Linked DNA regions of Homo sapiens: regions 1, 2, 3, 4, 6 and 7 are each linked to region 5. The links are contacts of gene promoters, found by promoter capture Hi-C in blood cells and fetal thymus (Javierre and others, 2016). All regions are on one chromosome and are shown on one strand. Each heading gives the region's core, a stretch centred on a gene start or on the middle of the fragment in contact. The rest is flanking DNA. Distances are from core to core; before and after follow the strand shown. Region 1 overlaps ZFAND3 (zinc finger AN1-type containing 3). Region 2 overlaps ZFAND3 (zinc finger AN1-type containing 3). Region 3 overlaps ZFAND3 (zinc finger AN1-type containing 3). Region 4 overlaps ZFAND3 (zinc finger AN1-type containing 3). Region 5 holds the start of BTBD9-AS1 (BTBD9 antisense RNA 1). Region 6 overlaps ZFAND3 (zinc finger AN1-type containing 3). Region 7 overlaps ZFAND3 (zinc finger AN1-type containing 3).

Evidence for each region. Contacts are between HindIII fragments. The CHiCAGO score rates a contact against its expected background, and 5 or more counts as called.
Region 1: a contact is called between a fragment that was not itself captured here and the fragment with the promoter of BTBD9-AS1 in region 5, in 2 of 17 cell types (M2 macrophages and M1 macrophages). The highest score is 6.0, in M2 macrophages.
Region 2: a contact is called between a fragment that was not itself captured here and the fragment with the promoter of BTBD9-AS1 in region 5, in 3 of 17 cell types (M2 macrophages, M1 macrophages and endothelial precursors). The highest score is 7.4, in M2 macrophages.
Region 3: a contact is called between a fragment that was not itself captured here and the fragment with the promoter of BTBD9-AS1 in region 5, in 3 of 17 cell types (M2 macrophages, M1 macrophages and M0 macrophages). The highest score is 14.0, in M2 macrophages.
Region 4: a contact is called between a fragment that was not itself captured here and the fragment with the promoter of BTBD9-AS1 in region 5, in 2 of 17 cell types (M1 macrophages and endothelial precursors). The highest score is 6.1, in M1 macrophages.
Region 6: a contact is called between a fragment that was not itself captured here and the fragment with the promoter of BTBD9-AS1 in region 5, in 1 of 17 cell types (M2 macrophages). The highest score is 5.5, in M2 macrophages.
Region 7: a fragment that was not itself captured here is called in contact with the fragment with the promoter of BTBD9-AS1 in region 5 in 1 of 17 cell types (M2 macrophages); the score reaches 5.7 in M2 macrophages.

Annotation. Positions count from the first base shown.
Region 1 is chr6:38,068,632-38,072,051 of GRCh38, forward strand. All of the region lies in intron 3 of ZFAND3 (zinc finger AN1-type containing 3), which reads left to right. Among named protein-coding and RNA genes, the nearest start is that of ZFAND3, 250 kb to the left of the region's middle. The HindIII fragment of the contact is 3,504 bases long and covers 153-3,420 here.
Region 2 is chr6:38,049,071-38,052,752 of GRCh38, forward strand. All of the region lies in intron 2 of ZFAND3 (zinc finger AN1-type containing 3), which reads left to right. Among named protein-coding and RNA genes, the nearest start is that of ZFAND3, 230 kb to the left of the region's middle. The HindIII fragment of the contact is 2,533 bases long and covers 501-3,033 here.
Region 3 is chr6:38,017,139-38,021,112 of GRCh38, forward strand. The region is part of intron 2 of ZFAND3 (zinc finger AN1-type containing 3); the gene reads left to right. Among named protein-coding and RNA genes, the nearest start is that of ZFAND3, 200 kb to the left of the region's middle. The HindIII fragment of the contact is 4,161 bases long and covers 150-3,974 here.
Region 4 is chr6:38,113,471-38,116,987 of GRCh38, forward strand. ZFAND3 (zinc finger AN1-type containing 3) reads left to right here. Exons shown (of 6, transcript NM_021943.3): 5 at 3,102-3,269. Among named protein-coding and RNA genes, the nearest start is that of ZFAND3, 300 kb to the left of the region's middle. The HindIII fragment of the contact is 4,171 bases long and covers 1-3,517 here.
Region 5 is chr6:38,479,690-38,483,614 of GRCh38, forward strand. It overlaps BTBD9-AS1 (BTBD9 antisense RNA 1), which reads left to right and starts at 1,907. Exons shown (of 2, transcript NR_144472.1): 1 at 1,907-2,097; 2 at 2,378-2,838. All of the region lies in intron 6 of BTBD9 (BTB domain containing 9), which reads right to left. The HindIII fragment of the contact is 1,570 bases long and covers 535-2,104 here.
Region 6 is chr6:37,999,051-38,002,537 of GRCh38, forward strand. All of the region lies in intron 2 of ZFAND3 (zinc finger AN1-type containing 3), which reads left to right. Among named protein-coding and RNA genes, the nearest start is that of ZFAND3, 180 kb to the left of the region's middle. The HindIII fragment of the contact is 2,204 bases long and covers 988-3,191 here.
Region 7 is chr6:38,092,857-38,096,738 of GRCh38, forward strand. The region is part of intron 4 of ZFAND3 (zinc finger AN1-type containing 3); the gene reads left to right. Among named protein-coding and RNA genes, the nearest start is that of ZFAND3, 280 kb to the left of the region's middle. The HindIII fragment of the contact is 1,626 bases long and covers 736-2,361 here.

The DNA of each region.
Region 1 (3,420 bases), core at 655-3,154, 410 kb before region 5:
CCTTTTGCATCTATAATACGGGACTCTGGTTTTTTTCCTGCTCTTGTCTACTGCATCCACCCAAGACATACTTTTGTTGTAGTAAAATAAAATATACAGAAAAAGTGAGAACCATATTAACTGGCATGTTAGTGAGGATTTTTAATGACTAAAGCTTCGTTTCCAGGTGCTGACTGGATTTTCCTTTAATATGACACTGATTCCCAAAATAGAAATTTCAGAACGTACTCCACCTCTGGTTAAATTAATTTGGTTGAACACAGATTTCCATTGTTTCCTTGGAAACTGGTTTCTGGTGATATCGTAGCTCCCTCAGGGATATTTAAAAAATGGTAGTGCCTTTTAACAGATGTCCTTGCTAGACTGCCCCGGGTCTTTGAACATCCATTGGGCGTCATTGGCTACATATCTTCATTTCTGTCTGACAAGCCTTAATCTGTTCCCTGGAAATTTAGTATCACTGCCACCAAGCGGCTAAACTTCTGATTTGTTTGTTTTTACCAATTAAATTTCTAATAATCTCTAAATGAAACCAGTGTTCCCTTTTTCAGACTATGCCTACTTCAGGAGGCCAGATATTGGGCAAAACAGGCTGGTTTCTTCTAGTAAAGCATTTAGAAAATATTGCCTATTAAAAAATATTTTATGACTTCCTGCTGGGCTGGTTTTAAGTGAAATATGGTGGGGAGATTTATTTACAGTTCTCTGTGTGTGTGTCTTTCTCTTTGCTTTTCTCTAATGAAGCTCAAAGCATCAGGCCATTTATCAGAGATAATTATACAACAGATGGAGTTTTTCCGATATATAATAGTCTCAAAGTGGAAGATTCTTTCCCATAATGAAGAATGCCCAAACTTTAAATGTCTCTTTTGATTTTAATTTAACGGTGTTTTTTTCCCCAGTGCATTTATTCATTCATCCCAAAGCTGGTTCTGCAAAGCATGCTGCTTTTATTAGGGCTGTGTTCTGAAAAGATTGATACTTTGCAGTACAGTATAATAATGTACAGTTATATGCTATATTGAAGTGAAGAGCCATAATTTATCAAAAATCAATGTGTGAGATCATTAAGTTAATCTCTGTCAAAATACAGGAGTTGAGCAGTTCAGCAGTGTTTTCTTATAGAAATTCTTTCTGTTCCATAATGTCAGTTGGATAGGAACTTGTTTAAGTACTGGTAGTATCATCTGACCTTCCATTTGTAGTCAAAATAAGAACCAGATTAAAGCAAAACCATGATTTTTAAGTTATTCATTTTCTGGCTTGCTTTTCTTTTTCAAAACTTTTAATCCTATTTTTAAGTATGCAAGTAAAACATGACTACATTCTCAATTTTTGAATTACAAAGACACAGGTTTAGATAGAATAGAACATGAAAATATTCTAACGTCACCACCATCAATCACCACCACCCAATTCCTACTTTTTACAGAAATAACCGCTGTTTATTCATTATGGGTTGTATTTTTTCTATGCAGCTGTGTACATGTTTACATACAAGATTTTATCTTGGCTGGGTGCTGTGGCTTGCGCCTGTAATCCCAGCACTTTGGGAGGCTGAGGTGGGCAGATCACCAGGTCAGGAGTTCAAGACTAACCTGGTCAACATGGTGAAACCCCCACCTCTACTAAAAATACAAAAATTAGCCTGGCATGGTGTCAGGCCCCTGTAATTCCAGCTACTCGGGGGGCTGAGGCAGGAGAATCGCTTGAACCCGAGAGGCGAAGGTTGCAGTGAGCCGAGATCACTCTAGCCTGGGCAACAAGAATGAAACTTAGTCTAAAAAAAAAAAAAAAAGATTTTATTTTTATATAAATGACAGCATACTGTATATATTGTTTTATAACTGCTTTTTAACTTAATATATTTTAGAGCTCTTTCCAAGTCTACACATGGAGATCTGCCTTACTCCTGCATAATATTCTATATTGCCCTTACTATCCTTTTCTCTACTCTCTTCTCTGGAGGTTGTTTTTAATATTTCACTATTATGAGCCATGTCAAGTAAACAGTTTTGTACGTGGCTAATGGTGCATATGTTATTTTTCCATGATAAATACATAGAAGAGGAACTAACAAGTCAGAGAATATGTATATTTAAAATTTTGATTTGCATGGCAATATTACCTTCCAAAATGACTGTATGACTTTATATTCCTAAGAATGATGTTTGAGAGTGATTGTTTACCACAGCATTACCAATATTAGGTGGGTTTTTTCTTTGTTTCTTCTTCTTTTTTTTTAATAAGTTGGGCAAAAGAATAGCTCATTTTAACTTGTGTTTTCCAGACATCTCCTGATAGTGAGATTCAGCATTGTTTTATGTGTTTATTAGCAATTTATAAGTCTCCAGTGATTTGCCTATCAGTGTTGTTCTTTGCTTATTTATTTTTTATTAGCTATTTTTTTCTTACTGATTTGTAGGAATTCTTTTATATATATATATATATGTAACAAATTCTGGATAAGTATTTGTTACATATATGTAAAAAAAGAATTCTAGATAAGTATTTGTTACATATATTGCCAGTTTCTTTTGGTATGTTACTTGGCTTTTAATTTTCATTTGAGTGCCTTGTATTCATTAGAATTTTTTAAACTTTAAGTCTGTTGGTCTTTTGTCTTCCAGTTTTCTGTCTTTCTTAGAAGGCTGTCTGAATCGTAGAGTTATAAAAATATTTTTCTATGTACATTTAATACTTTCATGGTTTATCTTTTTCTATCGTTAGCTCTTGAGCCCATCTGGAATTTATTTTGTATTTAAGGCATAGAGATTTACCTTTATTTTTTTTTCCCAAGTGGATAACCAGTTATGCAAAAACCATTCATTGAATAGTCCTAGTTTAAAATGCTAATACTATTACATAAAGACATAGATCTGTTCCTAGGCTCTTTATTTTGTTTTATTGGTCAACCTGTATATTTCTGAAACTGGAATATACCTTTATAGTATGTATCAGTAGCTTCTGATTTGGATTATATTGAATATATAGATTTTTTTCAGAATAATTGACATTTTAATAAACTTTTGGGTCTTCTCATAAAGGAATATAGTTTGTCTTTATTTATTCAAACCTTCTTCTATGTTCTTGGCAAGAGAATGTCATCTCTCTGCACAAGTTTAGAGACTAAGCACCAAATTAGCAGAGGCTTTATTTTATGCTACTTTGCTCTGTCCCAGAACACCTAGCACACTGCTGGCATAGTACTCAATAAATGGTTAGTGATTTAAATATTTAGGAAAAGTTTTGTTTTTAATTTTTCTTACTTTTAGAAACCTACTTTATGTGTTTTGATACATTAAAGAAGGGACTTCTCATTGCCTGTACCTGATTTTTGAATAGCTACTTAATTTTTTAAAATAATTTTCTGTACCATACAGTAACCCCAAGACAAAGCAACTCAAAAAAAGGCAGTGT
Region 2 (3,682 bases), core at 517-3,016, 430 kb before region 5:
CAATGACTAGCACTCCCTGTTGTGTTAGGCCACCTAACTTCACACATTCATGATACCCACCTGGTCCCTGAAAACTTTCGTATTTGTATCCCCAGGATTGGCTTGTTAGTGTACATTGTTAATGAAGCCAAAGACTTCGCTATAATTCATACCAGAGAAATTATTTTCATTGCATTAGTCTCAAGCTAGCAACTTTTTAAGAAGTCGGAAGAGGAATAGCAATCATGGTTAATCCAAGATTTACTATATGTCAGGCACCGTTCTAAGACTTCCACATGTATTATCTGATCTGCAAAATAACTTTATTAGGTAGATAGTATTATTATTCTCATTTGTAGGGAGAAAACTAGAGCAAGAGAAGTTAAGTAACTTGCCCAAGGTTACACAGCAATTAAGAAATAGAGCCAGGATTTGAACTCAGGCAGTCTGGTTACACACACCCTACTGGGACAGAGGATATGTAGGTTAGTTGTGCATGAGCTTTTCTCACTAGTGGAGAAAGCTTTTGTATCAGTAGTTGATAGCCTTAATATGGAGATAGATACCTTTTAGGAATTGTGAATTATATAAACATCATGTATTCTGATACCTTGGATTCACTGGATAAAAATTAGTCAGTTAGCCCTAATCTTGGGAAGATCATTGTCATCTTCTCTGAACATCCCCCTGATATGCTTTAATAGATGTAAGAAGAAAGTGTTAGTAAGCCCATCATTTCATCCTTCAAAAAAATATATCTTAGAAGTTTGAACCACTACTTGGTCTTTTACTCTTTGGGAAAGAGATTGACTCTCCTCGCTCCCCCACCCCCACCCCCACCCCCTCCCCCTCACACCCACCCCGTCTTCATTCACCACTTTTGAGTAGGCAATTAATTTTTTTTTTTTTTTTTTTTTTTGGGGGAGACAGAGTCTCTCTCTGTCTCCCAGACTGTAGCACAGTGGTGCAATCTTGGCTTTCTGCAACTTCTGCATCCCAGGTTCAAGCAATTATCATGCGTCAGCCTCCTGAGTAGCTGGGATCACAGGTGCACGTCACCACGCCTGGCTGATTTTTGTATTTTTAGTAGAGATAGGGTTTCACCGTGTTGCCCAGGCTGGTCTTAAACTCCTGACCTCAGTTGATCCACCCACCTCGGCCTTCCAAAGTGCTGGGATTACAAGCGTGAGTCACCGTGCCTGGCCAAGAAGGCAATTCATTCTTTGCTTCTTTTTCCCCTTCTAGAGATGGAGTTTTGAGATGTTACCTAGGCTGGCCTGGAACTCCTGGGCTCAAGCAATCCTCCTACCTCAGCCTTTCTAGTAGCCAGGTGATATGGTTTGGCTGTGTCCCCACCCAAATCTCATCTTGAATTGTAGTTCCCATAATCCCCACATCATGCTGGTGGGAGGTAATTGTATCATGCGGGCGGTTACCCCCATGCCGTTCTCGTGAAAGTGAGTGAGTTCCCATGAGATCTGATGGTTTTATAAGGAACTTTTCCCTGTTTGCTTGGCACTTCTCTCCTGCCACCTTGTGTAGAAGGACATGTTTGCTTCCCCTTCTGCCATGATTCTAAGTTTCCTGAGGCCTTCCCATCCATGTGAAACTGTGAGTCAATTAAACCTCTTTTCTTTATAAGTTACCCAGTCTTGGGTATTTCTTCATAGCAGCATGAGAACGGACTAATACCCTGGGACTATAGGCGTGCACCACTGTGCCCAGCTGACATTCTTAAAATATAACATATTGTATTTCTTGAATTTAAGCTGAACATTTGCAAGTTTTATCTTAAGGGAAAACGTGTCTCAAAAGTTAATATCACCACTCTAAGTTGAATTTACTGAAACAGATGCAGTGGTCAGCTTAGTAGCAGAGCTTAAATGAAGGAGACCTGAAGATTGGTGGTGTGTGACCCTGGTAGGAGATGATGAGGCTGAGAACTGAGTAGAAATACTCAGGGAGTATTGAGGGAGTATTTAGGGGTAGGAATAGCCCCTTAAGTCAGGAGCTGCCTTTGTGAATAGAGGGAAGCAAGAACGAATAGGACCAGATTGTAAGAGCATACATAGGTGGGCAAGAGCAGTCCCACCACCGCTCTACCCAGTCCCACCACCTAGGCTTTTCCCAGTCCCACCACCATCCTCTCCCTCAAAAGAGAGGTGCAGTGGGAATTATTTTTTTGTCTTTTCTCCTGTCACATCTGCATGGTAAAATGAAAGGCTAATAGCATTAGGACTGTGGATACAATTATAGAAATAATCAGTGATCTAAAAAGGGGGGTGCTAACCTGCTGTTTTTGCTAATTTATTCCCAAATACTTTTCTACTTTTCTATTCTGTTGTCATTGAAGTCTTTATGGGACATTTAAAGCCTTAGGTCTGGGGTAAAATATTGCAGCCTCCAGCCTCTCCAGCAGTTACGTTCATGCCACTTCTGTGCCATTGGAGTAATTCATGAATGACACTAAGGACTAATGGCTTGAGGGGAAGTCTTTAGATTATACCAAGGATCAACTGTAAACAAAGAGAAGTTTTTTGTTTTGTTTTTAGGCTCCAACTTGCCTATTTTATTTTGTCAGCTTTACCCAGTTTTTCCACAATATGCCAAACCCTATCTGTAATTTTGATGGCTGAACTGTATGTATATATGCGCACACAGCATAAAGTGCATATTTTGTTAGAACTAGATTAATGCCACAATATTCAGAAAACTTCTCCCTGTGTTTTCAAAAAATTGACATATTTTGTGGTTAGACTGAAATGAGGTAAATGTACATGTTATTGTAGTACTAATGGATTGTTAGATATTTGCTGTAATGTTAACAGTTAATTTATGCCCTGTAAATGAATATTGAATATGAAACACTGTTACAGGGAAAACTGTATAGTCTGCACAATAAATGCTGTATAGGAAACAAGCCTTACTCCAAATAATTTTTTTTGCTAGTTCACACCTCTGAGTAGTTGGCTCTATAGGTGTGAAGAATCTAGAGAATGTATAATTTCAGTGATAAACTAGATTATAAAGTAAGTTTAATTGCTGAAAAGAGTAAGCTTTGCCAGCTTCATATATTCTCTTGTTGCCTGTTTTTGCAAGACACATTTCAGGATATGCTTTTGGGAGCCAATCTAATGTTACCTGTATTTGCCTCTCGTAAAAATCTTAAGCTTTGTGATTTAAATCTAAGCAAGCAGGAAGTGACTTGAGAGACCTTGTAAGTCCTGTTAGGACCAGTTATCCATGATGAATAATAAGGAAGAAATTTTTATATGTGTGGGGATAATTTATGAAATCCAAACATCTACTTATTGACAGGGTGCTTAATATTTCTCCTGTAGGTAGGAGCACTCTTGCTTCCTATAAATACATTTTGTAGCAATTTAAAATCCATTTTAAATTGTCTGTAAGAGAATTAATATTTTTCAACTTTGTGTGTTCATCAGTATCCAATACGCTAAATTCAGCAAATTTATATTATGTATTATGTGGCAGGCATTTTGCTAGGGGCTGAGGCACACTGTGAATAAGACATTCATTTATCCAACAAATATTTAATAAAGTACCTTCTATGGGTAATCTTAAGGACTTCCCTTAGGAAGTAGTGCTTATATTAAGAGTTCAAATATGAGTAGGATTTACCAAGGTGAATATGAGGATAAAAAAATCTCCCACGTGTCATGATTAAAGCACTCCATGTTGA
Region 3 (3,974 bases), core at 980-3,479, 460 kb before region 5:
TGTCTACAGCCAAGGAGAGTGAGGGAAAAGTGTTTCAAGCCCAGCTGTGTGGTAGAAATGGAGCATCTTCATCCAGCATCTCCCAGTGAATTGATCATGTGTGGAAACACCAGTCCAAAAGGTAACTCACAGCTTATGGAGGGACCAGAAGCTTTGGAATAAAGCACAGGAGAAGGAACCCATGTGAGGAAGTTGGGCAGGAGCTGTTTGGCGTTACAGTTAGAAGCATTGCCTTTCCATTCCACGATGACTTCAACTGGTATTTGAAGCTAGTTATTAGTGTGCCCAGTGAGCCATGCATTTCTGAGGTATCTCAGTGTTTTTAAAATAAAGTCTGAAATCTTGATCTGCTTAGTTCCACCAAACCCTGTTCAAATTTTCTGAAGGCACTTTAGCAGAGCTTGTCTTTTCATTTTGTGAATACTAAACTGTAAACAATGTTCTTAAAGCGGTAAAGGGAATATACATTTTTAGAATTTCTATATTTGATACTTGAAAAGTTGGGATAGAGGAGAGACCTGGTGTTTGTGTCTCACTGGAGAGGGAAACTCCTGCTCCCATTAAAAAAAAAAAGAATCATATATTTCTAGATGTATATTTCAGTCTTCCGGGAAACTCCCTTTACAGTTTACCTTCCTAGGCAATGATACAGACCTGTTTGTTTTATGGAAATGAGTGTTAACTATATTTTCTCAAACTACAGAAAATAATATTCATGTTATTCGTGTCAGCATTCTTGATCTCTGGTTTTGGGTATTGTCCCCTCCCCCAAGTCTTATCTCATTCTCAAAAGTATGCCTTTTCCTAGGTTCCCAGAAAACTACTTATAATTTGCCCTTCCCTCCTTTTTGCGGACTTTGAGGATCAGCTCCCTTTTGCAGTTGTTGGTGGACTAAAATGACATTATACTATCACAGTTGAGGTGCCAGTTATCTTAATATAATATGAGTTTAGCATGTTTATATGTGGCTTTTGGAATAAGATGGGTCAGGTAATATCACCTGTAACCTGACTCCTATTTTTATAAAATGGTCATTAGCCTCATCATCCATAATCTTTATTATAAAAGGGGCCCACTGATACTACACATTCCTTTAGTATCTTCTCATATTAATAAATGAAGAACATTTTAGTTAGGTTTGCATTTTGAAATGAAATACAAAGAACCTAAAACTATTGTTTTGTAATATATCACAAGTGATTACAATAAAGCCATTATCAGGTAACGTTTTCCTCTTTACATTCTATTTTCAAAACATATAACGTTTTATTTTTTTAAACATAAAAACATACTAAGTTTTTGAAGGGGAAGTACACACATTCCACAGAATTTTTAAAAGGTATAAGGGTATACGCTAAATCTCCCACCTGCTCCTGATCCCCATCCACACATTTATACTCATTTTGTTTTTCATATTTACACCTCTGCTGTGCCCTTTTCTTTCTACTCAGAATTTCTTGGAGGTCATTTCGTATCGGTACCAATGCTCATTCTTTTATTGTGGCTGTATAGTTTTACATTATACTGCCATTTATTAAACCAGTTCTCTGTTTTGGAGTATTTAGATTACCCCCTCCTAGGCTTTTACTAAAACAACTCTCCAGTTATTATTTGTGTATGTAGGGTACTTTGTACATGCAAGATTATATCTGTAAGATCAACTCTTTGATGTAGAATTGATGGGTCAAAGTGTATGTGCACTTTTCATTTTGATATTGCCAAATTGCCCTCTGTAGAGGTTGAAATAATTTACACTCCCACTGGCAGTGTTTGAGAGTCCATTCTCCTGGCAGCAGAGAAGAAACTTTTTATTTTTGCCAATCTGATAGACTTTTTTTTTTGGGACAGAGTGTCACTCTGTCACTCAGGCTGAAGTGCAGTGGCGCCATCTGGGCTCACTGCAACCTCCACCTCCTGGGTTCAAGCAATTCTGTCTCAGCCTCCCAAGTAGCTGAGATTACAGGCATCTGCCACTACGCCCAGCTGATGTTTGTATTTTTAGTAGATACAGGGTTTCACCATCTTGGTCAGGCTGGTCTTGAACTCCTGACCTCGTGATCCACCCACCTCGGCCTCCCAAAGTGCTGGGATTACAGGCATGAGGCACCACACCCGGCCTGATAGATTTGTTAAAATGATATCTTATTTTGCTTTAGTTTGTATATGTTGAGGTTGAACATTTTTAATACACTTAAAGAGTAATTCAGATTTCTGTGAATTTTGTGTTCATGCTCTTTGTCCATTTTTTCTATTAGACTTTGGGTCTTTTTTATTTGTGGGAGCCCTTTTCACATTAAGAAAATGAGTCCTTTTCTATACTGTGTGTTGCAAATATTTTCTCCAACAATTTGTCATTTGATCATGTATGGCATATGTTGAAATACAGAAAGTTTTTATTTTTACGTAGTCAAATATATTAGTCTTTACTTTTATGGCTTCTGGGGTTTTTTTGGGTCATTCTGAAGGTTGTCCCTTAGAAAAATTTATGTTTTCTTTAAATGCTTCTTCGGTTTGCTTTTTATAGTTAACTAGGCTTATGTTTTTGATGAAAGACATCTTAAACATTAATATCAAAACACCATTTTGTGTTTGTTTTTTGAGATGGAGTCTCACTCTGTTGCCCAGGCTGTAGTACAGTGTGGCACGATCTCGGCTCACTGCAACCTCTGCCTCCTGGGTTCAAGTCATTTTCCTGCCTCGGCCTCCCAAGTAGCTGGGATTACCGGCACATGCCACCACACCCAGCTAATTTTTGTATTTTTAGTAGAGACGGTTTCAGTATGGTGGCCAGGCTGGTCTCAAACTCCTGGCCTCAAGTTATCTGCCCGCCTTCGTCTTCCAAAGTGCTGGGATTACAGGCGTGAGCCACCACACCCAGCCTCAAAACACTATTTTGGCCTTCTCATAATGCCTTTGCTGTTTAACTGCAGGATGGGCCTGCATGGCATAGACTGTAGATCCAGGCACATGGGCAAATCATAGCTTTGTTACCTAACTGCTGTGTGAGATAGACAGATTAATGTATCTAACTTTGTTTTCTCATATGTAAAATGAGAATAATTATACCTGCCTCCAGAGTAGTTACGAGAATTGGAAGATAATGTATATATTAATTATATTCTTAAAGCACAGTGTTATAATTTATAATCCAACACACATTAGTTTTCTTCCTTCATCTGACTTAAACATCATAGTGATCGGAAAGATAATTAAAAATTTTTTTTTAAGTAGAATCACTTGGTGGTTAAAAAAAAAAACATGTTTCAAATTATCTCAAAAAAATACTGTGCTTTAGTAATACTTTTGTATTAACAAACAAGTCTCCAACATAACTCTATCCCTCTATTTATTGCATTATTTATAAATAAATGGTAGCATTTGCTTTCCAAAGAGGAGACAACTGCTGGCTTTTGTGTTAAAGCAAGACAACTATGTAATGGCATGTGGATAAAAAATATTTTTAAAATTCTTCCTCCTTAAAGGGAAGTTTAGGAAAATACATCTCCTTATTTTGCCTCTCTCCCCATTACACAGCCTGATATTGTCCAGATTGCTGTGGATCTTCTCACCAAATGAGTTTTGTATCTCTAAGTTAATTTTCTGCCAGAATCACTTCAGGCTGATGACCGTGGTGTTTGTGTATCCATTAAGCACACTGCCAGGATATGTCCACTACTTTCCACCTCTCGTATTAAACAGCTGTCAGCAGGTTTACATAGCTACTCTCTTGCTCTGCATTAAGTGTAGGGAGCCAAAGGATGCTATGTAAAATGGTCTATAAAGGAGTTACATAGAGCTGGCTTAGAAATCACAGAAGATAAATTCTGTCATCAGCTGGGTCAAATTTATTAGTGTTTTATACTTATATGAACAGAAAATATATGAAAGGAAATACATTTTAAAAATTCTGTTTCTTGGTTAACCTTTTCCTTTCTTCATTTAACAACCTCCAACTAGTAAAATTCAACAATTC
Region 4 (3,517 bases), core at 386-2,885, 370 kb before region 5:
AAAATCTCAGCATGGGATCATGTAGACATTCCTTAGTGTTGCTATTGAATGCCCATTGGTCAGGTAAGATGGGGAATTAAGAGAAAAAGAGGTCAAGACTGCACAGGCCTCCTAACTTTGCAGGGCAGGGGTTGGGGGGTCCCATCAAAGTGGGTTGTTTGGTGATGACTAATGATTGTGATTATGTAAATATGAATTCTATTTCTCAGCCATAGGACTCATACATTTAAAAAATTTTTCTTCACATATCTAACTCCCTTACTTATTTGGACATAGTTACCTTATGGATAATATTGCCACACTGAAATTCTTTTTGTCTTTATTTTTTCCCCCGGCTTCATTGACACAGTGAAATTAAATTGTCTTCTCCTTGCAGGAAAGGTTTGTTTTAGAAATGGGTGCTTTGCAGATGAACAGCATGTTTGACGGTTTGGGATAGATTCATGTAGAAAGAGCTCTAAATGTGAACTCTGCATTTTCAGACACAGAGGTGTGAAAGAAAGGGGCTCAGGGTCTGAGCAGTTCTGTGTTAGAGTAGAGGTGTGCTGGCATTGTGCCAAGGCCCTCCAGATTTTAATCATAGTAATAATGAAAAGGCCTCAGCTGCCTCCCCATCTTGTGCTGACACCTGCCTCCCAGTGGGAGTAATTTCCTATAAGGATGCTTTGAATTTAGGACTTTGTCTCAGAAAAAAACATTTTTTGTTACAGTTTTTACCCTAGAATTTTCTTGTTACAAAAAAAAAATTCTAAATAGGGTTATTGATACAAATAGAGCCATTGCTGGTTTGTGTAAAAGGACCCCGCCCGCAGAGAGCAGTGTGGCTCATACAAGGTGAATTTCTTTCAGCTGACTGCTTTGTAATGATTTATATTTAAATTGTTGCTTGTTGCTCTTGTAGAAGAAGGGAGAGCGCCTGCCCTATCTGTAGCCACCTTACTCACCACACTGACTGGGCCTGGACAGCTTTGCTCAGCAGAGCTGGGAAATAGGCTGAACTTGCCTTCAATTGTTTTCATCAGAGTCCTTATTTAGTTGGTTTGTATTGGGGCAAAATGTCATGTAGGACTGGAAGAATTAAATGAGATGAAAAATGAAGTCTGTAGTTGCTAAGAATGGTGCAGGGCCTCCATATGCCAGTACAGCACAGCAGGGCTGGGGGACTATGAGCAAACTACCAGCATCACCATCGGGGTCCACTGGACAATCTTGGGTGAAGTGCAGCATCTTCCTCACACACAGGGAGGCTAGGAAAGGGCATACAGACAGCCTTCACTAAAATACATCCTATAGGCTGTGGCTTCTCACTAGAGCCACTTTAAGTAGAACATTAGGACTGCCTAGGAGACAAATTCATTCATTCAAAAAATATTTATTGAGCCATAGGCATGGAGGGAACATCAGTAAACAAAGCAGGTGAAATTTCCTGCCCTCTTGGAGTTTGCTTTCTTTTAGGGCATAATGTTAAAGATAAGTGCTGTGGAGGAATAAAAGGGAAACAGACGAGGGGAAGTGCTAAGAATAGGGATTCAGTGATCTAGAAGTGATGATCAGGGAAGAAGCCTTCAATGAAAATGTGACTTTGCAAAATAAAATTTAAAAGAAAATGTGACGTTGGAGCAAAGATATCAAAGGGAATGATGCAGGGCCTCCATATGCCAGTACAGTGCAGCAGGGCTGGGGGACTGTGAGCAAACTACCATCATCACCATCAGGGGCCTGGGTGATAAAAGAGATAAGATCCCATGTAGATCTGGGTGAAGAGTGTTTCAGACAGAGGGAATAGAAGGTACAAAGTACCACAGGTAGGAGACAATAAGGAGGCTAGTGTAGAGATAAGCAAAGGAAGGAAAGCAGCAGGAGCTGAGCGTGGGGCAAGTCATGCAGGGTATTTGAGAGTCTAAGTATCTGGACTTTCACTCTGACAAGGGGAGCTATTAGAGGGTTTTGAGCAGGGAAGTAACATGATCTAACTTGATTTTTAACAGAGTCACTTGTCTGCTATGTGGAGAATAGACTGTAGAAACAAGGGGATGAGCAGAGAGACCAGTGAAGAGGCTCTTGTAGTAGGCTTGATGAGTTGGTAATGGCTTAGACCAAGGTGGGGGTGACAGAGGGGTAAGAGGTGTGGCATCTGGATTATTTTGAGGAAGACTGTTTAGGAGACTCCCTTCTGGAAGTAATTTAGCACAAACAATTTGGAACTTGGTAAGAGGTACATCGTGGGTATGCAAGCAGCTGTTTCAGGAATACAGAGCCCCAAAGAGCTGCCCAGTTTATTGAAGGCAAGAGTCGTTTACAGCCTTGCCTGTGATAAGAGCTTTGTTGCGTCTTAATTACTTTTTTGAAGTTGTGCAAGACACAGTTTTCACAGAGTACACCCCCCTCCACCTACCATTTTGGCTCCACCTCAAGGTGGGGTGCCTGGTGCTGCTGCTGCTGCACCACCCCATGGTGGAGTTCATAGGGCAGCTTGCATGTGTACCAGCAGAGGTGCCCCTTCATTCTGAATCAAATTGAACTAATTGTCAGTATTAGAACCTGACTTCTGTGTCTTTAAGAGTAGAAACGTGAGTAATTTTACTATAAAAGATTACAGATCACTCATCAAACGCTGGCTTTGGGAATGGAATTGTGAAAGCATAGTGATACAGAGATACATTAGACATAGTCCCATCTCTAAAGAATTACGGTCTACTTGAGGACAAGCAAATGCCCAAGAAAAGATATCTAACCAATACAGGCAGTAAGCATCTAGGTCCCAGCAAGGGAATACAAAGACAGGACCCCATTTCTAGCTGGAATGGTCTCCTCATAGAATCTCAGCTCTTTTTAAAAACAACAACATAGAACTGGTTTTTGTTGAGCCACCCACACCCTCCTCTCCAGCTCAGGCCTAGCTTGTTAGAAGTCAGCACTAAAGGTACACGTTTGTCATAGTTTGTGCAGTATAAACCAAGCAAGTCAGAACTGGCTCTCACCTGTCTGATTCCTGGACAAGGGCAGTAGCCTGGTCAGGAGAATGCCTGGAAATACATTAATCAACTGTGCTTGCCAGGCCAGGCACTAATCCTGATCCCCAAATATGTTGTTTTGGTCAGATTCACAGTCTGAGAATGAGGCTTCACCAGTAAAACGGCCACGACTACTTGAGAATACGGAACGGTCCGAGGAAACCAGTCGATCTAAACAGAAGAGTCGACGTCGGTGCTTCCAGTGCCAAACCAAACTGGAGCTGGTGCAGCAGGAATTGGGATCGTGTCGCTGCGGTAAGCATCTCCCCCAGTGGCGTGATGGAGACTATATCCTTAACACCTTGGCCCAGCTTTGGAAATTTAAGTGGCTGAAGTCTTTCGTTCTTCTTCTGAGTACTGTAAGTTTGCTACAGTAGTGCATGCGATATAGGTTTGGGGCTTGAGAAATCAGGAGCATAGTATGTTTGCCTCTAAACACCCTTTATTCTCACACATGCAAAAAAGACAAAAACATCCCCATGTTCTTAATGCATATCTCCTTA
Region 5 (3,925 bases), core at 657-3,156:
AAGCCTCAAGTTATAGGGGGCACTAAAATCTTTTTTTATTTTTATTTTTATTTTTAAAAGACAGGATCTGGCTCTGTCGCCCAGGCTAGAGTGCAGTGGCGTGATCTCGGCTCACTGCAACCTCCACCTCTCGGGCTCAAGCAATCCCGCTGCCTCAGCCTCCTGAGTAGCTGGGACTACAGGTGTGCACCACCATGCCCAGCTAACTTTTGTATTTTTGGTAGAGAAAGGGTTCCGTCATGTTGCCCAGGCTGGTCTGGAACTCCTGGGCTCAAGCGATCCTCCTGCCTCGGCCTCCCAAGGTGTGGAGATTACAGGCATGAGTCACTATGCCCAGATGAGCACTAAAATCTTTAAATAAACGCTCTTTTCTATAGACTGCTAAGAGAAATAGAAGGGAAAAAAGCAATACAATACTTAAGATTTACTGGAGAAGTACTACTGGGAATTGAGGGGAGAGTGTACTCTTTGGAAACAGATAAACGTAGCTCTGAAACCCTGCCTTGCTCCTTGCTAGCTGCATGATTCTGAGCAAGCTTCTTGATACTCAGCTTCCTCATCCATAAATACGGGGAGCAATGCACTTCCTTTGCAGGGCTCTTGTGGGCTGAGAGACAGCATGCATTCAACACTCAGAGTACCTCTCCTTTGTCGGTGCTCAATAAACAGTAGCTCATCTCTGCCATTCCTGGAGTTAAGGCAGAAGACCCACAGTACAGCACTCTGCTTAGGAGCTCTTATGAAAGTGTAGGTCAGATTGGTGCAAGTCCTGTCAAATGGGCATTGGTGGGTTACACAATCTGCTTTTAGCCTCTCATTTAAATTAAGCATGGGCCAGAACATCAAACTCTTTTCAAGAAATCAGTGCTGTAACTGGGACCCTGAGACTACCTCCATGCAAAGTAGTATATAAGTAAAAAGCTCTAATTTTGCTTGTAGCTCAGCTATAGAACACGCCAAAACCCCCCACCAAACCCACTGTTCTAAGTAATGGAAGTGTACTCTGAGAACCATCTGAAAAGAAGCCTGACAACTTGCCTGTCTTATTCCCCACCTGACCTCAATCTTTCTTCCTCTGAGTGGATGATTCCAGTGCCAGTTTTAGATCCAGTGCCTACCCAAGATTTGGCGCTTCCCAAACAGACTGTAGTGTTGGTAGACAGCATATAGCCATCACACAGGCTGACACTAAGAGATAGTGGGTATGAATGTGCGCTCTGTGCAAAATCCTCATGGGGAAGGAAGGCAACACCTGGGTACCTTTGGCAATGTAAAAATTCCCTTCTTTTAAAAATGCTCTTTAAACAAAGAGCTTTATATCTAGACTCAAAAATGCCTTTCCATCAGTATCAGCTTCTCCCAGGTAAAAGGAAGTGAAGACAGAAACAATGGAAATCCCATTGAGTAGGGAGAGGCAAAACAGAAAGGTTTATTCTAACGTGAGAGGAGCCCATGATGATGTGAAAGGGAAAGAAGAGAGAAGAATGGCATATAACCTGGAAGATTCAAGTACATTCACAGATAGATACTTTCCCAAGGTGTGCAGGAATCTAGCCCTTCTTCAAGGAGACAACCATAGCATCATATAATTCAAATTAATTCCTTTCTGAATGAGAGCTGAGTAACAAAGACAAAACTTGGCAAGATGGCACAGCACAGTGAGTGCAAAATTGTATTCCCAGTTGATACTTGGTGAGATGTTAGGTTGTCAGCTTAATGTAAAATAAAATGAGGCCGCACATCGTAAAGTGTTTTGAAAAGTAAAAATCCAAGGGAGATAGGAAGGCAGCATTTTAATGAGTCTAGAGAAAATGAATTCCAGGGTGAGCAGCTCTGCTCACGACCTCTTTTCAGTTGGTATCCCATAGGCCTCTGGGAAGCGGGGCACATGAGGGAGGGGCCAGTGCCTGCCTCCACACTACCCCCTCTCCCCTAATGAGGCTGGCAGCACCATTTGCTAGCACCTGGCAGATGAGAGAGAAAGAAAACCTGGTGTGGAGACCCCCATCCATTAAAGGCAAGAGAGTGAAAAGTGGGAGAGAAAGCTCCCAAGTTCAACAGCAGTGACCTAGGGTCATGCAGTGAGGACTTACAAAGGTATAAAAGCTTCTTTATTCAGGTGGTTCCTTTCAGCGCAACTTATTTGATGATGCTTAATGCAGGCAGTTAAAAGAACAGTTCAGTTGGATATAACTTACAGTACGTCACACAAATCTGGAGTGCCCAAGGAACATTAGTTTCAGGGAACACACTGAGATTATAACCAGCCTTTTTGCCAGGGGCAGCTTGTAACTCAGAAAGTCATGTTTCATTTAGGATGTGCTGTATAATGTTGAAGGGGAAAGTAACTATTTTGTTTTGTTGTGTTTCTTCCCAGTCCAAGAAGAAAGCATTTGGAGAAGTGCTACACATGCTCAACTGAACTTCCTGTCAAATTGTTCTCACTCGTTTGGGCACAAGTCTGCTTAAGCCATCTCTCATTAACATTTACTCTTGCCCGAAGCCCTCTACGCCCCCAACCCCTGCTAATCTTCCACAAGCAAGCTGATCACACTGGGATCTCCTTTTCCCAGACACGTTTGATTCTCACTTTCTCCTGAACCTAGAAATGTGCTTCCCACCAAAGCATGCCAGGCACTAACTCGTCCCTACTGAAAGGGGCTGTTAAAAGCTCATCTTCTTTCCAGATGGTAGTGAGGTGTGAGGTGATCCTTTCTCTTTCTTTTTTTTTTTTTTTTACTTTTAGCTACCCCTCAATTCTGGTGTTCAGTAACAATGTATTCCACTTAAAAGAGAGAAATCATATTAATTATTCTAAGATATAAACACTTAATTTTATTCATGCTCTTGAATTACTTTCCTTTCTACCGCATGTTTGTGTAGCTGTTATATGAGTCCTTTCTACTGATGTAGCTGTCATTCCTTCAACTCAGTTCTTGCCAAACACTGAGCTATGTCTGGAGATACAAAGATAACTACTCTTGTTGAAGAGATGCCAGTTTAGTGGGGGAGACAGACATGTAAACAGATCTGTATCTGAGATAGATGGCCTGGGTAGGAAAAGAATATATATAGCACAAATAACTCAGTGGACCTGCAAAAACAGAGCTTGAGGCCATGATATACCACAAAGACCCACCAAGGCACAAGCACTGTCAACATGAAGGTAAGGCTTCCATTTTTGCCTCTTTCAATCTGGGTACATCTATTCTACATACTCTGCCTTTCCTCCTGTTACAGGAAAAGAAGGAACCTCAATTCTACCTAAAGTCAATCTTCTCCTTGAGCTAGAGATCCAGCCCCTCTCCCATAATGAGGTACACGGCCCCTACAAAGATCCACTCTCCTGCATTATCAAATCCTCCCTCCCTGTGGTATCATTCCAGTCCACACACACACATACCTTAACATCATCCTCCCTTGACCCTAGGTCCCCCTCCATCCTCTTCATCATTTCTCTGCTTCCCCTCCCAGTGATACTTTATCTTCTACATGTATTGCTACCCCTATTCCCTCAGCCTCTATTCCCTTCTCCCTTGACTCCACTGAAATGGCTCTTAAAGGACGCCACTAAGCTCTATCTTGCTACAACCAGGAGTCGATTTTCTGTTACCTACTGCCCTCTCCCATCTCCCCTCCTCATACCGAAAGACTGACTTTTTAAGACTTCCATGAAAATGTTGTCCTTGTTTTCTTCCTGCCTCACTGGCAGCTCCTTCCCAGTCTCTTGTATTCACTTTTCCTTGCCCACCTGCTGTCTGGTCTTCCCTATAGTCCATTCTCACACTAGATCACACTAGAGTTATCTTTCAAAAATCTCAACTACCATCACCTGGTTTAAACCCTTCTATGGTTTCCCATCATCCTTAGAATTCGACACTATCAAGTCCCTGTAGGACATGGCTCCTGTCTATCTGTCTGCCCT
Region 6 (3,487 bases), core at 840-3,339, 480 kb before region 5:
TCTAGGACTGGAGTAGGAAATATATAAATTGAGCTTTGAACATATTATAGTGCCAAAAAGTAAAGTGCTTTAAAAAACCCCACAATGAAGGGGGCATGTCAGAGGGACACAGGAGCCAGCTGAAGAGCTCCCAGTGGCCCAAGCTGGAAGGAACTATTTGAACAACAAAATAAAATACTAACAAGTTGTAACCCGAAATATAAAATAAATATCCATGAGTCCATACTGATATATAATTAGTGATAGATAACTAAAAGAGGGAGAAAGAGATAAATTTGCCATGTAGCATTCCAAATAATTTATGTAGCTACTCTGCCATTAAGGAGCAAGGGGAGCCTGACTCTCTGTTCCTTAAGTGTGGGCTGTGCTGTGACTTCCAAGTGTGGAAAGGGAGGGAAAGTAACTTTAATGGAGAAACCTGACAAACACTGCCTCAGCCAGGTGATCAAGATTAACATCAGCAGTGATAATTCATATTGATTGCATATACCCTTGATATGGTGTGATGAGAATGGCCTCTGTGATCTTCCTCCAATCCCATTAATCCAGTTTAACCATGAGAAAAATCAGACAAACCCAAATTGATGAGCATTGTACAAAATACCTGACCAGTACTCTTGACAAATGTCAAGGTTATCAAAAACAAGGAATATCTAAGAAACTATCACAGCTAAGAGGAACATAAAGAGACATGACAACTAAATCTAATGTGGTGTCCTGGATGAGATCCTGGAATGGGAAAAGAACATCAGGTAAAAACTAAGGAAATCTGAGCAAGTGTGGACTTTAGTTAATAGGGTGTCAATATTGGCTCGTTAATTGTAACAAATATACCATACTAGTGTAAGATATTAATGATAGGAGAAATTGGCTCCTGAGTATATGGGAATTCTCTGTACTATCCTGGCAACCTTTTTATAAATCTAAAACTATTACTAAAAAATAAAGCTTTATAGATTCCATTGATTAGAAGGAAAAAATAAATAAAGCTTTTTTAAAAAAGGAAAATACTTCTGGGTGGCACAAGTAGAATTGCTTTTACTTATCCCCCTATTGGAGTTTAAACAATTTTTAAAAAAATAAAAGCAAATTCAGATACCAAACAAACCAAAAAACTTACTGTGATGATCCTGAGAGGTTTTGAGATGATGTTGATCTCAGATTGATATTGATCATTTGCGAGACCCATAGCACCTTCCATTAATTAATTATAAATTCTTCTCATCTAATTCTGAAATTGAGAAACTGTATTTCCCATGCCCTCCAAACAAATTTGTGAAAGAGCGAAAATTTCATAGATCCTGACTGTATTTATTAGTTCATTCTTATACTGCTAATAAAGACATACCCAAGACAGGGTAATTTATAAAGGAAAGAGGTTTAATGGACTCACATTTTGGCATGGCTGGGGAGGCCTCACAATCATGGCAGAAGACAAAGGAGAAGCAGAGACACATCTTACATGGTGGCAGGCAAGAGAGCTCGTGTAAGGGACCTCCCCTTTATGAAACCATCAGATCTCATGAGACTTAACTTATTTACTGTCAGGAGAACCGCCTGGGAAAGACCTGCCCCCATGATTCAGTTACCTCCCACTTGTCCCTCCCATGACACGTAGGAATTATTCTCTAGTAAAACAATAAATTAGATCAAGGATGCTAAACTCTGTATTCACCTAATATATCAATATTTAGACTAAAAGAAAAGACTAAAAGACAAAAAGAAAAGATATCAGACCAACAGCCATAACTCAGTTCTCTTGTGTGTAACTACTTTTTACTCCTAGAGACAAAGGAGTTGTCTTTACTTTTATTCCAAAATGAGATTTGGGTGGGGACACAACCAAACCATATCACTGACTGAGTCTTGCGCCTACCTTCTGCTTAATGCTTCTTTCTTTTTAGAAGTAGAAATATTCATGAATGAGAAAATTATAGGCACTGGACCTTCCTCTGATGCACTGAATAAAGCTCAGAGTTCGCTCTAATCACACTTGAAGGAGAATAGGTTGAAGAATGCAGGGTAATTTAGAAATGCAAGAATGCTTGTATATCCTTTTACTAAGGAGATTTTTAAAAAATCTTCAAAATAACTCTGACCACCCTTAGTGTAGAAAGTATTCTAACTCATTTTTATTCATTCTTTTAAATAAGTTACTTTCTCTTGACCTGGAGTAGGACAGTCCCAACTTCCAGTTGAATAATAATCCCCTAGAAACAATGCTTTGTTATTTCTGACACTGGTTCACTGCTCTCCTCTTCACAGATCCATTACTACTAGTGTTTGACCTTCTGGAAGGCACAAGGTGCTCCTGAAATCATAGTTAGGACTGGGAACTGAAGGGCTGATGCAAATGTATCTTGTAAGACAGTCTGTGTTCTGTTACAAATGATCTCCATCCTGGTGTTCTTTCCTGCCCAGTTCATTTATTTTTCCTAGGATCTTTGCACAGAGCAGAGCAACATAAACTCTATTACAGTCTTATCTTTTAGTGGGCTTTTGGCCAAAGGTTCAGAGCTCTAGAATTTAGAATTACTTTTTACTTCATAAAATCACAGGGTTGATGTTAGCACTTTTTTTTTCAGCCATTAATTCATCCCTTGGTCATATGTAAATAAACTAAATTTGTATGATGTAGTTGGTGGAGTGAGATGTCTGGTTTATTCAGCTTGGAAAACCTCTTTCAGAACATGGATAAACATGTATTTGTGCATTCCCATAGCTTCCGGCAAGCTCTGTAGAGAAGGTCAGAGGAATAAAAGTAAAGGCAACTCCTTTGTCCCTAGGAGTAAAAAGTAGTTGCACACAAGAGAATTGAGTTATGGCTGTTGGTCTGTTATCTTTTCTTTTTGTCTTTTAGTCTTTTCTTTTAGTCTAAATATTGATATATTAGGTGAATACAGAGTTTAGCATCCTTGATCAAATTTATTGTATTACTAGAGAAGTACATTTTTACCAGTGAAAATACAGTCAAGTGTGAACATTTTAAATGCAGAAAGCCTGAGATTTTGTCCTATTCAATAAAACGGCTGAATTATAGAATACTCAAGAGATGTTGTTTTCCTTAAGAAGATATACTATAAATATTCATGCGTACTAAGCCTATAGAAACATAAACTAGGCTTAGTTCAACAATAAATACTTGCAAGCTCAATGAAGACATAATGGATACAAAGATGATACCCTCAGGAAGCTTATAGTTTAGTTCTAAATTACACTACTGTATTTTCTTTTCTTTTTTTTTTTTTTTTAAAGAAAACAGTTTAACATCAAATGTTTCCCAGGTTTACTTTTTGCACAGTGCATACAGTTTTGGGAAAATATGTGGTTACAACACGATATTCTAGGCCAGTTATGTTGGCTCACACCTGTAATCACAGCGCTTTGAGAGGCTGAGGCGGGCGGATTGCTTGAACCCAGGAATCCGAGACAAGGCTAGGCAATATGGTGAAATCCCGTCTCTACAAAAAATCCAAAAATTAGCCTG
Region 7 (3,882 bases), core at 299-2,798, 390 kb before region 5:
ACTTCATGTATTTGTCATTTGTGCCTTTAAGTAAATACACATCTTTATGTGTAGTACCCTCAAAACTAACCTATCAGGAGACTTCCTACTGTTAGAGATATTGTAGTTTTTCTCTGATGCCTTAAGGTGTGCCTAGGTGTATCTCAGTTTTGAAGAAGCCTAATACATGCTAATCCCAGTAGTATAAGCTACATAAACTAAGAATTAATGTTATAGGAGGATCCTTCAGTCTATAAAATGCCTTGCCATTGGGTTAATGTAAATAGGTTTTTCCTTTTGCATATAAAGTAATACTTGACTTGCCAAAAAAACCAGTTCCTACTGATTTATTCAGGAATGTTCTGTGGGTAGTGGCCAGTGGAATAGAGAAAGAGAGATAAATCTGATTAAGATATGTTTGAAAAGAGTAATTGACAGGATTTGATGGCTGATTAGAGTTGGCTGAAGAAAGACTGCAAAGTATAAATCTGGAGAACTGAGGGAAGAAAGATGTAACTGACAGGGAAGGAGTAGGAAGAAAACTTGATTGAAACTATTTTCAGTTTCTGATGAGTTAAATTATTATAGTCCTATAGAAAATTATAAATATGAGCCTGTTTTAGAAATTGCTAATTTAGAAACAATGATTAAAACTGTGCAAATGAATAAAGAAGAAGAATGGGGGGTAAGGACTGTGTTTCAGGGCAGGAAAGAGAAAGAGGAGCCAGTGAGTTAAGGAAGCTAAAGAAAGGAGAAAGCTTCCCACAGGATCATGAAAGATGCATGAGAAGAGGGATCAGGAAATGTGAGGACTAAGGAAAGCTATGGCCATGGCTAGCAGAAGATCACTGGAAAACCTGAACGAAGTTTGTGTAATGTGTGGGAAACGAAAGCCTGAAATCATTAAAGAGGGCCTTGATAACAAGGAAATAAAGGCAGCAGACAGAAATCATTCATTATGGAGTTAATTGAACCATTAAAAACTAGCAAATAGTGGTGGTTGGAGGGAGAGACAGGGTCGGGCATTTTTTGGTGTGGAGGTGGTTAAAATAGTGAACTATTTTGCCCCTACTAAAATACAAAGAAAAGGGATCCAGGAAGAGAAATAGAAAAGATTAGAGGAGAAATGGAAGAGGCATACAAGCAAGACTCAGCAGAGGCAGAAACCCAGAAGGGTTATTTCTATCTAAGAGTGTAAGGAAGGACATACAGTCAGAGATTTTCTCAGTAAATGAGTAGATAGTTAGCTGAGACAAGATGAACTAGGGAGTTTCTCCTAGAAAAGGTGGTCGCCGTGTTCTGATTAAAGGAAAAAATAATACCATAAGTTGTAAGTAGCAGCAGAGAGCTGAGGGTATAAGGAAGGAACTATTGTGGACTGAGGAGGGAAGATAGCATCTACAAGTAGTAGCTAATTCAAGCTGTCATTAAGTAGTTTAAGTTTATAGTGGGCCAAAGTAACACTTTCCATGGGTACTGCATTTAATCCAGAAGAAAAAAAAAAAGCAAAGGGGAACAAGTGGTGCTCTCTTTGTTTTTTAATAAGATTTCATTTTTATAAAAGTAACATATGGTAACACACCATATCACAGAATAGCTTAGAAAAGAAAGTAATAACTTGGATATGATCCTACTCCACAAAGCTGACCAGTGTTTCTCTCTTGACAGTTTTAGTACCTTTGTTCTGTAGGTTACCTTGTAATTATGAGAGGAAAATAATGCTTAAAGTCCTCCTTTTTGAGATGTCAACTGGCATGAAATAGGAAGATTTAGCTTATACTATTCCTCATCCCAGTGTTTGCTATTTTATTGTTGATTTTCATTCTTTCCTGATCCATCAACTTTCAGCATCATCTCTTAATGAGGATATTAATACATCTGATTGGAAATACTTATTCATCATATCTTCGGTCGGCTACACTTGTAATTTTTATATGTCATGGTTGTTAGTTAATACAGGTTGAGTATCCCTTTATCCAAACTGCTGGGGTCCAGAAGCGTTTCAGGTTTCAGATTTTTTAATATTTGCATTATACTTACTGGTTGATCATCCCAAATCTGAGAATCCCAAATCTGAAATACTCCAATGAGCATTTCCTTTGAGCACCATGTTCCAGAGCTCAACATTTTGTAGCATTTTGGATTTCAGATTTGAGGATTAGGGATACTCAACCTGTATTTACAGTCAGGCTGTAACCAGAAGCAAATCCTCCATGTATGTTCATAGGTTGTTCCTAAAAAATTGAAAGCCCAATATATGACATTTACATTATTATGACTCTGTAAACGTTCCCTGTCAGGCCACCGTGATACATGCTAAGAATATATTTCTTTTTCTATGGGTCTAATGAAAACAGTTAATGGTGAACTATTTAGAAAGCAAGCTTTCATTTACTTTTCAGGGCTAGCATCTGTGAGCCATTGCATAAGAATCTCTGAGCCATGGAAAAAGAATGTTACTACAGCAAAGCCAAATTGATCCTTTATTATATTCCATCAGTTGCTCAAAAATCATGCCACATCTTAGTTTGCCTTATATTTGCATTATAGCTTTTTAATACAGGTCCCCCCACCCCTGGCATTTATAATTGCCTTTCTTTTTTTTTCTACAGTATTTGGTTTTACGTCACCACTTACTTCCTAACTCTGTATTTACACCTTTCACCTGAAACCTTTTTCCTAGCGCCTACCGGTCTTTCCTCTCCAATCTGAACTAGATTCTGTAAGCCCGCGGTGACATCCTAGAATTTCCTTTCACTGCTCAAGCTTTTATTCTCTCATTTTTCCAAATACACCCCCAAGTTAGTGCCTAAAAGAAGCAGTGTTAGAGTTCCTGCATATCTGAAAATTTTTTTCTGCTTCCATTATGTTGGAAAATTTGAGTAACAATTCTCGGATGAAAGTCATTGCTTCAGCCAGACACGGTGGCTCATACCTGTAATTCCCAGCACTTTGGGAGGTGGAGGTGGGTGGATTGCTTGAGCCCAGGAATTGGAGACCAGCCTGGGCAACATGGTGAGGCTTTGTGTCTACAATCAATACAGAAAATTAGCCAGGCATAGTGGTGCGCACCTGTGGTCCCAGCTACTTGGGAAACTGAAGTATGAGGATCACCTGAGCCCAGGAGGTCGTGGCTACAGCGAGCCATGATTGCACCACTGCACTCCAGCCTGGGCAACAGAGCTGAGATGCTGTTTCAAAAAAAAAAGTAATTGCATTCTTGTCTTCTAGTATTCCATGTTACTACTAAGAAGTCAGATGCCACTGATTATCATTTTTATGAGTAATATACCTGGATTTTTTTCACTTTTAGAACTCATTAGGGTTTTGTTGTTGTTGTCCCCCCCAACCCCCCGAGACAGAGTCTTGCTGTGTCACTCAGGCTGGAGTGCAGTGGTGTGATCTTGGCTCACTGCAACCTCCGCCTCTCGGGTTTAAGCGATTCTCCTGCCTGAGCCTCCCAAGTAGCTGGGATTACAGGCACCTGCCACCACATCGGGCTAACTTTTGTATTTTTAGTAGAGGCGGGGTTTCACCATATTGGCCAGGCTGATCTCGAACTCCTGACCTTGTGATCCACCCGCCTCAGCCACCCAAAGTGCTGGGATTACAGGCGTGAGCCACTGTGCCCAGCCAGGGTTGTGTTTTTATAAGCTTAGTGTTCTAAAATTTGTAGTGAAGTGTGTATTAGGCATCCCTTTTTTCCATTCAAGATGCGAATACTTGCTAGGTCCCTTAGATCTGAAGACTGATGCCCTTCTTCAGCGCTGGAACTCTTTTATTTTCCCCTATCAACTTTGTGGGGGTTTTTTTGTTTTGTTTTGTTTTTCTGGGATGCTTATAATTTAGATGTTGGAAGTGCTATTTTGATAATCTTTCTCTAATTCTTTTCTCAGAGTCTTC